2 separate regions of the Homo sapiens genome follow, and region 2 is linked to region 1. The links are contacts of gene promoters, found by promoter capture Hi-C in blood cells and fetal thymus (Javierre and others, 2016). All regions are on one chromosome and are shown on one strand. The core of a region is centred on a gene start or on the middle of the fragment in contact, and the rest is flanking DNA. Distances in the headings are between cores, read along the strand shown. Region 1 holds the start of LURAP1L (leucine rich adaptor protein 1 like). Region 2 has its middle 64 kb from the start of LURAP1L-AS1.

Region 1 (7,133 bases), core at 2,485-4,984:
CAAATAATGAAGGCAGAGAGATTTGACCGGGATTGTGAAGAGGGGATAAGGAAGACTTAGATCCTGGTGACCTACTTTTAGTATTGTCTGCTAAATCCTCAGGGAAGTGTTTAGCTCTGATTATAAATATTAATTAGATTTCAATCAGAGACTATTTAAAGGGTCTGTACACCTTAGAGAGAGACATTTCAGATAGATTGATTGTTAGAAATATATACAGATATAGTAATATATATAGCATTTTCATGTACAAGTGGTTCAAGTTGGTAATAAGTAGATGATTTCACATAGTAAAACAGACCCAAGCCAGCTACAAAATTATAGGTAAATTAAATGACTCTATAAATAAGCATGATAAAACCTTAGTAACTTTAGCAGATATATAATTCCACTGTATATGGATAGGGTCAACATTCTTTAGCTTTGCTATAACATCTTCCTTGTTATGCATATAAACTGAACAAAAATATTTGTAGAAGCAGCAGCTCTACACATTTAAAAACAAACAATGAAAGAACCTGATACTTATTAAATAGTGACTTCCTAAAATTCTTAGGCATAATTTGAGGCTGTTGGCTGCTTGACATTATTCTGCACTGTGGGGAGTGGAGTCTCAGGTAAGAGACCCTGTCCTAGCCCTTGAGCTCTGTGACAGCAAGAGTTGGGAATGCTGCAAACTTGCAATCAGTGCCAGAAAGAAGGTGGAAGGTGTTTCTTCTTTTAACCACAATGCCAGCAACAGATTAAGGAGTGGTGTTACCCACACTACATGAAGCGTTGTTGAGTCTACTCTTGCTGTGAGTATTGTGTCTCAAATCAGGAAATGTTCTAAGTGTGGAATGTGTGAAGCGTGCATCACATCAGTCTGTTGTGACTGAGGCATTCTTTCAAAACCTGTCATCTGAGTCCAACAATGTTCCTATTTAATTAGCCACTAGTTTTTCTTTCTTTTTAATGATAAATAAGAGGCTCCCTTTCCTTCTCCGTGTACACAACATAGCTAGGGAAGAAACTCAGTCTCTTAAAGTCCTGCATAGTTTAACATTCATTCTTAGATTCTTTATGCATTTTGAATAGAAAAAAAAGGCAAATCCAGCTCATACATATGGTGGTCTTAAAAGGAAGCATATAATGAAGTATAAAAAATTACATCACAAATAAAAACAATACAATAACCATTTTTACAATTTTACTCTGCAATGTATTATTAGACTTGGAGAAACACTGCGAGTTTAGGTGGTTGTTGGCATGGCAAATGCTACTAATCAAAGAAACAGAGGTAGTTGGAGATGGACCAGAAAAGTAGGAGCAATGAGGGAGTGCTACTAAGAGTGATATGACTCAAGAATTTTTCCCTCTGTCTTTCTTAGTTCTCCCTATGTTCCCTCTCCCAGTTGTTGCTGAATTCACTGCTACCCCCAACCCCCATCCTGGACTCATTACTGCAAAGTCTTCTCAACTGATTCCCCAACTCAAGATGTAATTAGCTTCTCAGGCTAAGAGCAATTGGTAAAACATCTCACACATTTTTGTCCTTGTTGTTTGTGGGCATTTTTGTATGTTTATTGTTTTTATTTTTGTTTTTGTTTTTTGAGGCAGTTTCTCACTCTGTCTCAAAGACTAAAGGGCAGTGGCTTGATAATAGCTTACTGCAACCCCGAACCCCTGGACTCAAGCAATCTTCTGGCCTCACTCCCTCACCCCTAACCCCTTAGCTAAGACTACAAGTGCATGCCACCATGCTTGGCTAATTTTTAAATTTTTTGAAGAGGTGGGGTCTCGCTATATTGCCCAGGCTGACTCAGTTTCTTGAGAATCTTGAAAACAAACAAACAAAACACATGCTCAAGAACCAAAGTAAAAAAAAAAAGTTTTCAAATAGTTTGAGTAAGAAATGTCCTCAGATTAAACCACATAAAGCAGTTATGGTAGCATTAACAACAATCTATTATAGATCCATAAACATTCAATGATTTTAATATATTCTGAAAACTAGCTAAAGCATCATTCAAAATGTCTTCATTTTAAACTAAAATGTCAATAGGCATTTAACCGAAAAAAAATTTAAAGCTTGACATACTAAGCTTTCCTTCAAAAGTTTACATTTTTTTATATTTCACTGGAACAAAGTTACTTTGCATATACATCACACTTTTACTCTCAGAGGAGTTTCTCCTGCAGACTTCTTTAAAAAACTATATACATATATACATACATATACGTATATATTAAATTATCCTCAGCCTCAAATACTGATTTTGCAGTCTGTGATTCATAGCAGAAGAGGTGTCCCATTTTTCTATATTGACACACGATAATTTGACATTTGTTTTTTACTGACCAATTTCTAGCTAGATATTTCATCTATAAACTGCACTTAGCCAGCCTTATGCTGAACTTTGTAAGGGTTTTGTAATAATAAACTGTTCTTGACTGAAACACAAGCCTTTCATAATTACATGCCACAGTGCAATTCTTATGCAACGAGCTTGTGTTTTTCCAAATTTAGGACCAAGCATGTAGTTTTATCAGTTAGCTGGGATTTGGTCTTGTTTTCCCTTGATTCTGTAAGTGGTAGTTCTAACTTTGAAATGGGTCATCTAACTTATAACTATTTTCTTCATTTCTTTTTAAAAGGGAGAAATAGCATGCAAATTTCTGGCATGTTGATAGAAAGTTCAGCATTTTTTCCCTGACATGAAATATTTCATTTAGAATGCGTATGTTTCCTCTACGTATAAGGTTTCCTAGAGTCAGATATGATAAAAACAAACTCTGAGATGTATATACCTATGTTCCTACAAGTGTAAAACCTGAATGATGTCTCTGGAAATGGAGCCTCGGAGTGACCAGGAACACAAATACTTATATGTCACAGAAATAGAGGGGCACATACTTTGAAATATTTCAATGGAAATCAAAAATTGTAGTTTACTGGATTGAAATTAGTATCCTCTACTTAAACATTTTTGACACAAACTCAATGCTGATTCAGATCTGTAATCCATGTAGCTCATAATAACTTACTTGGTAGAAGTATTTCAGATTAATGAATTGTACAATTGTACAAATTAATAAATTGTACAATTGTTCAACTATACAATTAATTGTACAATTTGTATAGTTGAAAAAATCTATAAATTAATTTATAGATAAATTATCAAAGAAGACAACATTTTAAATAGTTATTCCCAATATTTTTTCTTCCATAATTAAAATAAAAGTAAGTATCTCAGCAATTGCTTGTTCTTAAAATTTCACTGCTATCTCAGCAGTCATGTAAGTTATTCTGGCTATTTAATTTTTCACTTTTGTTTGCATACTGTAACAGTTGGTAGGATAATTAATTTTGATTGTACATTTCCATTGAACTTTTGATGAAATTGTTTCACTCTTTTTATTAGAATAAAATTATTAGGAAAGTCTTCTAAAGAGAGGTTTTCTGTTTGTTTTTCCTTTGAGGAAGGTAGAGAGATGGGAAACGAAGACACCAAATATAAAGTCATTCCTCTATCTCTCATTTTAAAACCTGTTTTAAAGGTTGTAGCTAGTCAGGAAAACTGAAAAATCAACTGGTATTCCTAACTAAAGCAGGGCTTTGAAACTCTGCTACTAGCGACAGGGTTGGGAAAATTCCGGTTGCTCTTCTTGTCTGTGATATACGGTAGAAGGGTTGGTCCTGGTTTGGTCCACCTGCCAGCGGAGTTTAAAGTTTCCGAGGCTCAGAGGAACACAATGACTTGGATCAAACAGCCTAAATGGGAAGAAGGACATTTTTGCTGCATCAAGGAAGCCGTTAAACTCCTGCTAAGCTAACTAGCTCTTTTTTATGGGTCCATGCACACGACCGAACTCCTCTTTCACTGACCAGAGATTATTTCTGACAACCCAGGATATCCCGAAAGCTTGGAGGCATATGGCTGGAAAATGAAACGACCCAGGACATCGTTTCTGGCTGCATCATTATTTTGTGTCGCGTAGTACCAGATGGGCAGTCAGTGAGCGGCGCAGGGATGTGAACGGACGGTTTTATAATGTGAAAATTTTCCCTTGGTAAAGCTAAAACAGATTTAATTTCCCTCTCTTTTCTTTCACTACTTCCCCCTCTTTATTCCCCCTCTGTCTGCAATATCAGTGAACTCAACTTTGCAGTGAGGTGGCCAAAAAGAGAGAGAATGAGGAGATCTTGATCATCTTAGTGTCGGAGGAGTCGCAGCGGACTGGGAACTGCAGCTGCGACCCCCCGCGTCCTGTGCGGATTTCAGGGCTGATACCGCATAGGCGGTTATGGAAAGGACGGTACACCGGAGCGGCGGAGGATAGAGACCCTGGCCCCCGGAGAGGTCTGCTGATTTCGCAGCAGCCTTCGAAGCCGTGGCTGCCTTTCATCTGCTGCGTTTTATTACTATTATCGCCGTTCCGGAAAAGTCATGGAAGACAGCCCGCTGCCAGACCTCAGAGACATCGAGCTGAAGCTGGGGCGCAAAGTACCCGAGAGTCTAGTGCGCTCTCTCCGTGGGGAGGAGCCGGTTCCCAGGGAAAGGGACAGGGACCCCTGCGGGGGGAGCGGTGGTGGTGGCGGCGGCGGCGGCGGCTGCAGTAGCAGCAGCAGCTACTGCAGCTTCCCTCCCTCCTTGTCGTCCTCCTCTTCGTCCTCCCCAACCTCTGGCTCCCCACGAGGTAGCCACTCTAGCGCCCTGGAGAGGCTAGAAACCAAGCTTCACCTCCTCAGGCAAGAGATGGTGAGTGTGGTGCGCCAGCCGCGGGGGCTGGGACCTGGGCTGGGCCAAAAGATGGGGCGATCTGAGAATGGGGCTGGGAGAGAGGACGGCAGGGGCTGCAGAGCGGAGCGCTGGGCGCGTGGGAAATGCTGGGTGGAGGAATGAGCAGGGGGCGCTCATCCGGAGGCAGCTGCTGCGAGGCTTGTTTACCGCGGACTTTGCTCGGTCACGGTTTGCAAAGACAGCACAGTCGGCTGGCTCCACTCTGTGTACTTTCGGACAACGCGACTCACTGCGCCGGGCTCTATTTAGCTGCCAGCCCGTAGCCTCTTAGGCACCAGCCCGTTGAGAGTTTGCAGTTATTGCACCCATCTAAGGCCTGCTGTGCGCTGTTAACACTTCGGGTAGGTTCAAAAGGTGGCTCAGTCCAATGCACTTACTGCAAAAATACTTCCTGGTTTGCCGGGAGGTGGCGTGGCAGGGTCCTTGCAGCCTTTCCTCCTAGCTCACCCTTCCACCAGTACCGCTCCGCCCTCCTGCCCTCCCTTCTTGGTGCAGCAGCCGCAGCTGTTCCAAGGCCACTGTCGAGCAGATTCTCCACAGCTGGTTCTGAAAACAATGGCCTACTCGTCCTTGATGTACTTATGAATAGCTTGTTTCACTATTTTGATCCCAGGGAGCAGGTGATCCCCAGGCCCAGGGATCTGCTAAGGACCATCTCCCACCCTTCTCCCTCAAGTCTCAATCTGCAGTTGTTTTCCCTGCTGTTTGCAAACGTTTGCCTGAGCATAGGACAATGAGATAAGTACAAGGTCTAGGAATACTCATTCTGGAAGTATTTAGACTAAGACACTATTTACTTGCCATGAGCTCTTGGGCACGTCACTTCACTTCTGTAGACCTCTGTGAATTTGATGAGCTGGTTAGAGAAAATGATCCCTCCCTAAGTCCTTTGAAAAAAACGACCACAAAGCAACAGCATTTTCTACTAGCTTGGAGATAAGGAAAGTTGCAACAGTGGGCCTCAAAAAGAGAAAATAATTTCATTAAATTAACTTCACAGTTGCTTTTGATTTGCTTCAAAGTAGGCTAGGAGATTTCTATCACTCCGACAGGAATGCTGGAAATTATTTCTATCATTCTATCGTTTAGTTATTATAGAGTTCTATCATTTAGTGATTGTTATTTTTTAGGTTGGACAAAAATTTAAGGACAACCCTTAGGTACATAATGGAGAAGCTGGAAAGTGGAAGTCATCTTGATGAGTTTGCAAAATAGATGAAAAGATAAAATGGAAAAGATGACAAACCAACAGGTCAGGGGATGCCTGATACCGTATCACAAAGATCAGACATACGTGTGGAGACTAACAGGTAAAACTATTTTCCACAAGAAAATTTCTTGTACAAGGAATTAAGAATGTTGCTAACTCTGCAAATTAAGGACTTAATATGAGGGACGAAGACATCAAGGAGATGAGGAAATTTTATTCCTAACCATGTCTTCTGTAATTTTACCCATGGAATGTTAATATATTCACTTAATCTAATAAATAAATCTTGTTGAAACATATTTTCTTTCTCAGTAGCTCACTGATAGCACATCAAAGATAATACTGTCATTTTGCTGGACACTCAGACACAATTTAGAGTATTTATATATAACTTGAAAACAGTAACATTTCCAAAAACCGATGAACCCCACCCTGTCCCAAGGAATGATTGGTATGTATGTGAAGATCATTTTCTGACAAAAATAATTACGTTCCACTTAGGATGCACAACCATGTTGTCCTGTAGAGAAGTCACAAGTTTTGTGAGAATTTTTAAACTGATGATGTTTATTTCCATGGTAACGTGAGTATACATTTTACCTTCTATTGTAGTGATGAATCACAATTAGTTTTTTTTTATAGGTTGGTGGAAAAGTAATTGCTGTTTTGCCATTGCTTTTAATGGCAACCACAACTACTTTTGCACCAACCTAATATTTATTAAGACTTTACTTTTTTGAGACACAATTTCTGAAACTGGGATTTATGTTGAGAGTCTCTAAGGTCCCTGATAATTTGTCGCATTTGTTGTTGTTTTTTGGAGAATATTTCATCACTACTCAAATGATGGTCCTCTGGTCTGGTGGAAGCTTCGTAAGCTTTGAAGCCAGATAAACCAGGGTTTCAGACAAGTCTAGAGCAAGTCAGGATATCAATAAGACCCAATAGGATGTAGGGCTGCCTGTCTAGGGAGACATTTAGCTTATCTTCCCCGGCAAAAAGGCTTGTCCCGCTCTCTGTGGCCCTCATTCTAGTCATGGCTTTTTCACTCACTAGTGTGTGGCACTGAACAAGTTATAGAACCACTTTGAGACTCAGCTTTCTTGTTAACATAGGAATAAGAGCATCTCCATTAAGGC
Region 2 (7,133 bases), core at 1,890-4,389, 100 kb after region 1:
CAGAAAAATAAACTCAAAATGGACTAAATATTTAAACATAAGACCTGAAACTATGAAACTCATAGAAGAAAACAGAGAGGAACCTTCATTACATTGGTCTTGGCAATGCTTTCATGGGTACAAAACCAAAAGCACTGACAACAAAAGCAAAAATAGGATAGTGGGACTACAACAAACTAAAAGCCTTTGCACAGGAAAGGAAACAATCAACAGTTGAAAAGGCAACTTACAGAACAGGAGAATATTTGCAAACTATATATCTGATAAGGACTTAAGATCCAAAATATATAAATAACTGCTTATAATTCAATAGCAAAGAGGTGAATCATCTGATTTAAAATGGATGAAGGAACTGAAAAGATATTTCTACAAAGAGAGCACATAAATGGCCAACAGCTATGTGAAAAAATGCCTAATATCTTAATCATCAGGGAAATGCAAATCAAAACCACAATAAGACATCACCTCACACTTTTTAGGATGGCCATTACAAAAAGAAAAAGGAAAAGAACAAATTTTTGCTGCCTTGGAAAAATTGAAACCCTTGGATGCTGTTGGTGGAAATGTGCAACAGTGCAGCTGTTGTGGAAAACAATAGAAAGCTTCCTCAAAAAATTAAATGTAACTACCATATGATCTAGAAATCCCACTTCTGGATATTTATCCAAAATAATTAAAAATAGTATCTTAAAGAGATATTTGACACTCATATTCATTGCAGCATTATTCACAATGGCCAAAATGTGGAAGCAACCCAACTGTTCACTGATGCATGAATGGATTAAACAAAATGTGATGTATATATGTACCATGGAATATTATTAAGCCTTTAAAAGGAAAATTCTGTTCTATGCTGCATCATGAATGAACCTGGAAGACATTATGCTAAGTGAAATAAGCCAGTCATGAAAGAACTAATACTGAATTATTCTACTTATATGAGGTACCCAAAACAGTCAAATTCATCATATCAGAGAGTGGAATGGTGATTGCCGAGGGCTGAAGCAAGTGGGAAATGAGGAGTTGCTTTTCAGTGGGCATTAAAATTTCAATCATGCAAGATGAAGTTCTAGAGATCCCCTGTACCACACTGTACCTGTAGTTAACAACACTGTACTGTGCACTTAACACTTGTTAAAAGGGTAAATTTCATGTTATTTTTTTTACCATAATAGTTTTTAAAAAAGATTAATGGTGCTCTCTTTTCCACTGTTAGTTTCTAAGACAGTATCTCTTTCTTTCCAGTGTCTCATTACGGTTTTGCCTTACTTTACTTTATAATTGTTGATTGAGTACTCTGAGTATATTGTATCTCTATCTCCTATGTTACCTAGTATAGTGCTTTGAGCACAGAAGACACTCAATGAATACTTGTTGAATAAATTCATTTATGCATTAGTAAAGAACAACTCTATTAAGACTTTCCAAATGTTACAGATTACCTAATTTGTGGTATTTGCTTAAAAGACTGATTTGTGCAACTATGGAAAGCTGTTCACTAGGAATTCAAGGAAGATAGCATGATTACTGATAAAAAATAGTTGGGAAAAACTTAATGAAAGTTGTTGGTCTTCATTCATACATACGTCAGACATGTTGAGGAACTACTTGGCACCATGAAAATGAAGACAGGCTCACAGTCTAATGAGTAGCCAGACATATAAAATGAAGTAAGTGCAAAAAGAAGTCAATATAAATATTCATAGTTACAGCAAGATTAGAGGAACTAAAACTATCAATACCTTAGGAGGTTGCCTAAAGCTTTATATCTAAAATGAATTTTTAATAAACTATATATACTCATGGGGTTAGAGAAGGGCCTTCTGGACAGAAGGAACAATGTGTACAAAGATGAGAAAACATGAAAAACCCTGGCTAATTAGGGAATTTGTAAAAACTTCAAAAGATGTGGAGTATAGAATATAAGCAGGAAAGTATCAGAGAACATGCGGTATTCAGATTCTGAAGGAGTTTAAGGTCCAATTAAGCAATTTAGGGGAAACAGATGCACAAAGACTCATGTCAGAGCTACTCCCATTTCCTTTCTAATCCCGACTAAATCCAAGACTAACAATAACCACCACTACCACAGCAACAAATCCTGCTAATAGTATATACAGCTATGTGCTGCATAATGACAGACAACATATGGGATGGTAGTACCAAAAGATTATAGTAGAGCTAAAAATTACTATCTTCTAGTGAAGTCACAGCCATCATAGTGTCATAGAGCAAGACATTACTTAGATGTTTGTGCTGATAATGCCAGTGTAAACAAACCTACTGTACTGCTAATTGTATAAAAGTATAGCACATATAATCATGTACGGTACATAATACTTGATAATGACAATAAGTGACTATATTACTGGTTTATGTATTTGCTATACTTTTTATTGTTATTTTGGAGTGTACTCCTTCTGCTTATTTTTTTAAGTCAAAAACAGCCTCAGGCAGGTCCTTCAGGAGGTATTCTAGAGGAAGATACTGTTATCATAGTAGATGACAGCCCCATGCATGTTATTGCCCCTGAAAACCTTCCAGTGGGACAAGATGTGGAGGTAGAAGACAGTGATACTGATGATCCCGACCCTGTGTGCTTAGGCTAATGTGTGTGTTTGTGTCTTAGTTTTCAATTAAAAAGCCTAAAAACTAAAAAGAAATAAAAACGTAAAAAATAGAAAAATCTTGTAGAATAAGGATATAATGAAAGAAAATATTTTTGTACAACTGTAGAATGTGTTGTGTTTTAAGCTAAGTATTATTATAAAAGAGTCAAAAACTTTTTGTCTTTTGTACCTTATTTTTACTGTAACTTTTCTATGCTTAGATACACAAATACTTCCCATTGTGTTACAACTGGCTCTGGCTACAATATTCAATACAGTAACATGCTGTACAGATTTGTAGCCTAGGAGCAATAGGTTGTATCACACAGGTTTATGGAAACACACTTTATGACGTTCACACAATGGTGAAATCGGCCCTTTTCTCAGAATGTATCCCTGTTGTTAAGAGATGCATGACTGTACATTGTGTAGATCAATGTATGTGAAAATTATACTCATTTGTTAAGTTCCAGAATATGTGTTTGATTTCCCCAAGCAGAAATAATCTCTCCTCTTTTTGTGTTTCCTCACAGTTTTTTACATTTGACTTTTTACTCTACATATGGATGAATTGTACTATATCATCTACTACTTTTTTTAGCCCTTTGCTTATCTCTGTATCTACAGTGAAGGCTGGGTTAATTGAATGACACAGACTAGAATTGAAGTAAAGCATTTTTTTCTAGTAAATTCTACAATCTTTGGTCCTTATTGTATAAATGTGGTCATAGAAAAGATACCTTTCTCACTATGGTTAACCTACATTAAAAAAAACTAAGAAGGAGCACCGTGTTTAGTTACTGACACCTAATCCTTTGTTTTTCTTAGACTTAGGTCAGCAGAAATATGAAGCCTGGTAAGACTGCCTGTATTTCCAGGTTTTGTAACCCTGGTTTATTCATCAAACTATTGTGAACTTTGGCCCAATCATGTTCTTTTGCAGCCTGTATATTTGTTTATCATTCACTTGCATAGAAAAGATACCACCTATTGTAAAGAATCTGTTTGTAGAAATTGTAGAACATGAAAGGAGGCTGGTTAGTCAATACGCGTATTTTGTGTTTCCCTATATAATGACCAATTGATTTGTTTCAGGGTAATCTCAGCTCTAACTGCTAATCCAGAAAGGAAGTGCCTAATCTTTACAGAACTACTGGAGTAAAAGGGTATGTTTTTCTTTGCTTATCACAGGTTTAATTATAGGATAAAACAGCAAAGTGTGTACCAAAGCAACCAAAGGACTTAGTGTGAAAAAAAAAATTCTAAGAGTTTAAATGCTAAGAGTTCAAATGCAATACTACGTAAAATAAATCACAAGTCAGGCTTCAGACAGAATGCGGACATCAGGAAAAATGGGTAAAATATTTACCTTTGTATACTAGAATCTCTATTTCCCTATTTGTAATTACTGCACCCTGCACTCCCTATTAGAGATACTTATGTTAATTTACCCTGCCCTAGTTAAAAGCCATTTGAAGATTCTTTGAGTGCTACATTCAAAAGGAAATACATTCTATTATTGAAAATCTATATAGCTAAGGATATTCCATTTCATAGTTAGATATTTGTGGTAAGCCCTTGATCATCATACATATCATTTTTGGGCCATTATTTGATTAGGTATACAAAAATAATAATTTAGTTCCTAGAGGAATTAATATGACTTTTTAAAGTATTCATAACTAAAAATAGGTCTTAAACTCTGGAAAAATTTGATCAACAAATAAAGCCAGTGTCATCATTCTTGATTTCTTGATGCACTTGAGAGGGCATCAAGTTGAATTTGAAGACCACTTACCTGTGTGATTCAGAGAAGCGGCAGTACCATGGGAGAGGGGGATGTTTCAATAAAGGGTTCTAGATTACACAACTGCAAAGTGTTTAAAAGGATAGTCTTTCTTAAATCTCTGAAGCTTGCCTATTTATCTGTGATAAATTATATGAATTTATCTAAGTGGATATCTTTTGAAAAATAATATGCTTCTATCACCCTTTTGCTGCCAGGAAACTCAATGTAATTTATCCTTTAATAGTGTACACTGTACATCAGACTAAAGGTAAAGTTAACTCTCCTCTGTTTCAGTGTTTTCATATATATATATAGATATATATATATTTCTGATTTCTTTTTTAAAATTCATTATTTTATATATATAGTAATTACAGTATAAGGTGATTTAAAGACATAAACTGCATGTATTACAAAGCAAAAGAATAAAAAATACTGAATTATAATTCATTGCCTTAAAATATTCTTGTTTAATCACTTGGATAAAGATGTAACTGTGTAATTTATTACATAAATATTTTGAGAGATTTGAGATTCCTTGCCCTTTCATTTTACCTTTTTTATGTTTATATGAGAAATAGCTTAGTTATAAAATTTTTTTTCACAGAGGACTTAATTCTCTTCTAATGATTTTTCTGTTGCACAAGTTTTAGAAACAAATGATAAGAGCAGGGATGTAAATGAGGCTAGGAGTTGAAACTAAGTGAGTGCAAAGAATCAATGACTCTCAGTTTTGTAGCTTAAAAGGCTAATGGAAATTGATGCCACCCAACTAAGATACAGACTACAGAAGTGGTAATAAGTTTGAAGAGAAATATAATGAGCTCTCATTTCTACCACACATCTGTGAATATTAAAAAGGAACTTTGGCACTTTTATTCTTTTTTGTAATGTTGCCATTACTTATTTCCTTTCCTATTAATAGATCAACAATAGATCATTGTTGATACCATGTACTTAAAGCAAATTAAAAAAAAAAAAAAAACAGAAAATCTGTGTCTGTGTTAATTCACTGAACCCTACCATAAATGTACCTCCTCCGAACTCTAGATGGAAGACACATTTCAAGGGTGAGGTTTCCAATGCTAATCTAGAAAAACAGACCTCAGTTTAGGGGAAGCACATGACACCTTACAATTTAGATCATCCCCTCTGGTTGAAATGTAAAATATAATGTAACATGTCTCATAGCCAGAGGGTAAACAGGCTTGGATTACCAGTGCATTATTTGGCTGCCCTCATCAGAAACATAAACTGTCTCCACAAGTTTAAGATAAAACAGGAGAGGCCTGATCATTTGACTTAAACAAAACTATCGTTAAGTATAACTGCTATCTTCCTTCCTTATATGGCTCACAACTCCTTGTCAAGCCCAGCTGGAGACTGTATCTAAAAGGATTACATTTGAGTTTTCTGAGGCTGCCCTTGTCTCTTACACACACTCACTAATCTGACCATCTTGTTTTTATTAAAGCTATGTGATAAAAAAAATCACATAAAATCTGTAAACGCCAACTAGACATGGAGAAATTCTGCCAGGAGCAGTACCACCCTGAGACAAGTCCTGAAAGGTAATAACACTGTGGTATTTGGCTGCCTGTTAATAATATTTCATGGAAGTTTCCACAACCAAGAAGAAATAGATAAATCCAAAGGATTTTTGCAGCCTTTTATTTACCTTTTTCCCCCCATGTGAAAATACAAAGGAAAAGGCACATAATACAGTCCTTTAAAAAACCCTTGGAGATTATTTCTACCAAGATAGCCAAACACATGTGAATATTAAAAATTAACTTTGAACTTTTATTGTTTATTGTAATATTGCCATTACTTATTTTCTTCCCCATTAATATGTTATAGCCCACCCATTCTGTGAACCAACCCAGAAAAAAAAAATCTACTCTAGGCAAACCACGTGCGCTTATCTAACAATACAAGCAAGGATAAAAGATTCAGACAAAACTCCCACTAAAACATGAAACTGTTAAAAATCATAAAACTTGTGAAAGTTTTGTGTGTATGTGTGTGTGTGTTTATGTGTATCAACAAAATACATCTGCTTTAAAAATTTCTCCTGGATTCACAGTAAACATTCATAATTCCAAAAAAAGAAGCATTCCCATTTGCATTGCTTAATGAAGACAAAAATATATTTTTTATTTCAGAAACCTGTATGTAGATCAACTATACACTAACAAAGTTATTCGTTAAGATTAAAGGAAAATAGGTTATTTAGTTTTTGTTATAATGATAATTGCTTCAAATGTTTCTTATCTAATTAGTTAATTAATTATTGAGTATCTGTTATATTTCAGGCCTGTATTGAAGAAAATTATTATAAGTGTAAAAATATATTTATAAACATATATAATGAATATAAGTGTAAATGTATATTACTATAAATATTAAAATGTAAAAAAATGAAACAGAAGGGTTAAAAACAAACATTCCAAAAATAATGTCCTGCTTCACCTACAACTTTTGATATTTAAGATTCACAGGCCATAGCCAGGCGTGGTGGCGGGCGCCTGTAGTCCCAGCTACTCGGAAGGCTGAGGCAGGAGAATGGCGTGAACCCAGGAGGCGGAGCTTTCAGTGAGCTGAGATGGCACCACTGCACTCCAGCCTGGGCGACAGAGCAAGACTCCGTCTCTTAAAATAAAATTAAAAAAAAGATTCACAGGCCAAATATGATTTTCAGAGGAAAGTTTCTCTGTGCAGTGAAGCTGAGAAGG

What was found. Contacts are between HindIII fragments. The CHiCAGO score rates a contact against its expected background, and 5 or more counts as called.
Region 2: a contact is called between a fragment that was not itself captured here and the fragment with the promoter of LURAP1L in region 1, in 1 of 17 cell types (endothelial precursors). The highest score is 6.4, in endothelial precursors.

What each region holds. Positions count from the first base shown.
Region 1 is chr9:12,771,286-12,778,418 of GRCh38, forward strand. It overlaps LURAP1L (leucine rich adaptor protein 1 like), which reads left to right and starts at 3,735. Exons shown (of 2, transcript NM_203403.2): 1 at 3,735-4,742. The coding sequence starts at 4,431. The region is part of intron 2 of LURAP1L-AS1 (LURAP1L antisense RNA 1); the gene reads right to left. The HindIII fragment of the contact is 1,821 bases long and covers 2,083-3,903 here.
Region 2 is chr9:12,875,031-12,882,163 of GRCh38, forward strand. No RefSeq gene overlaps it. Among named protein-coding and RNA genes, the nearest start is that of LURAP1L-AS1, 64 kb to the left of the region's middle. The HindIII fragment of the contact is 2,761 bases long and covers 1,760-4,520 here.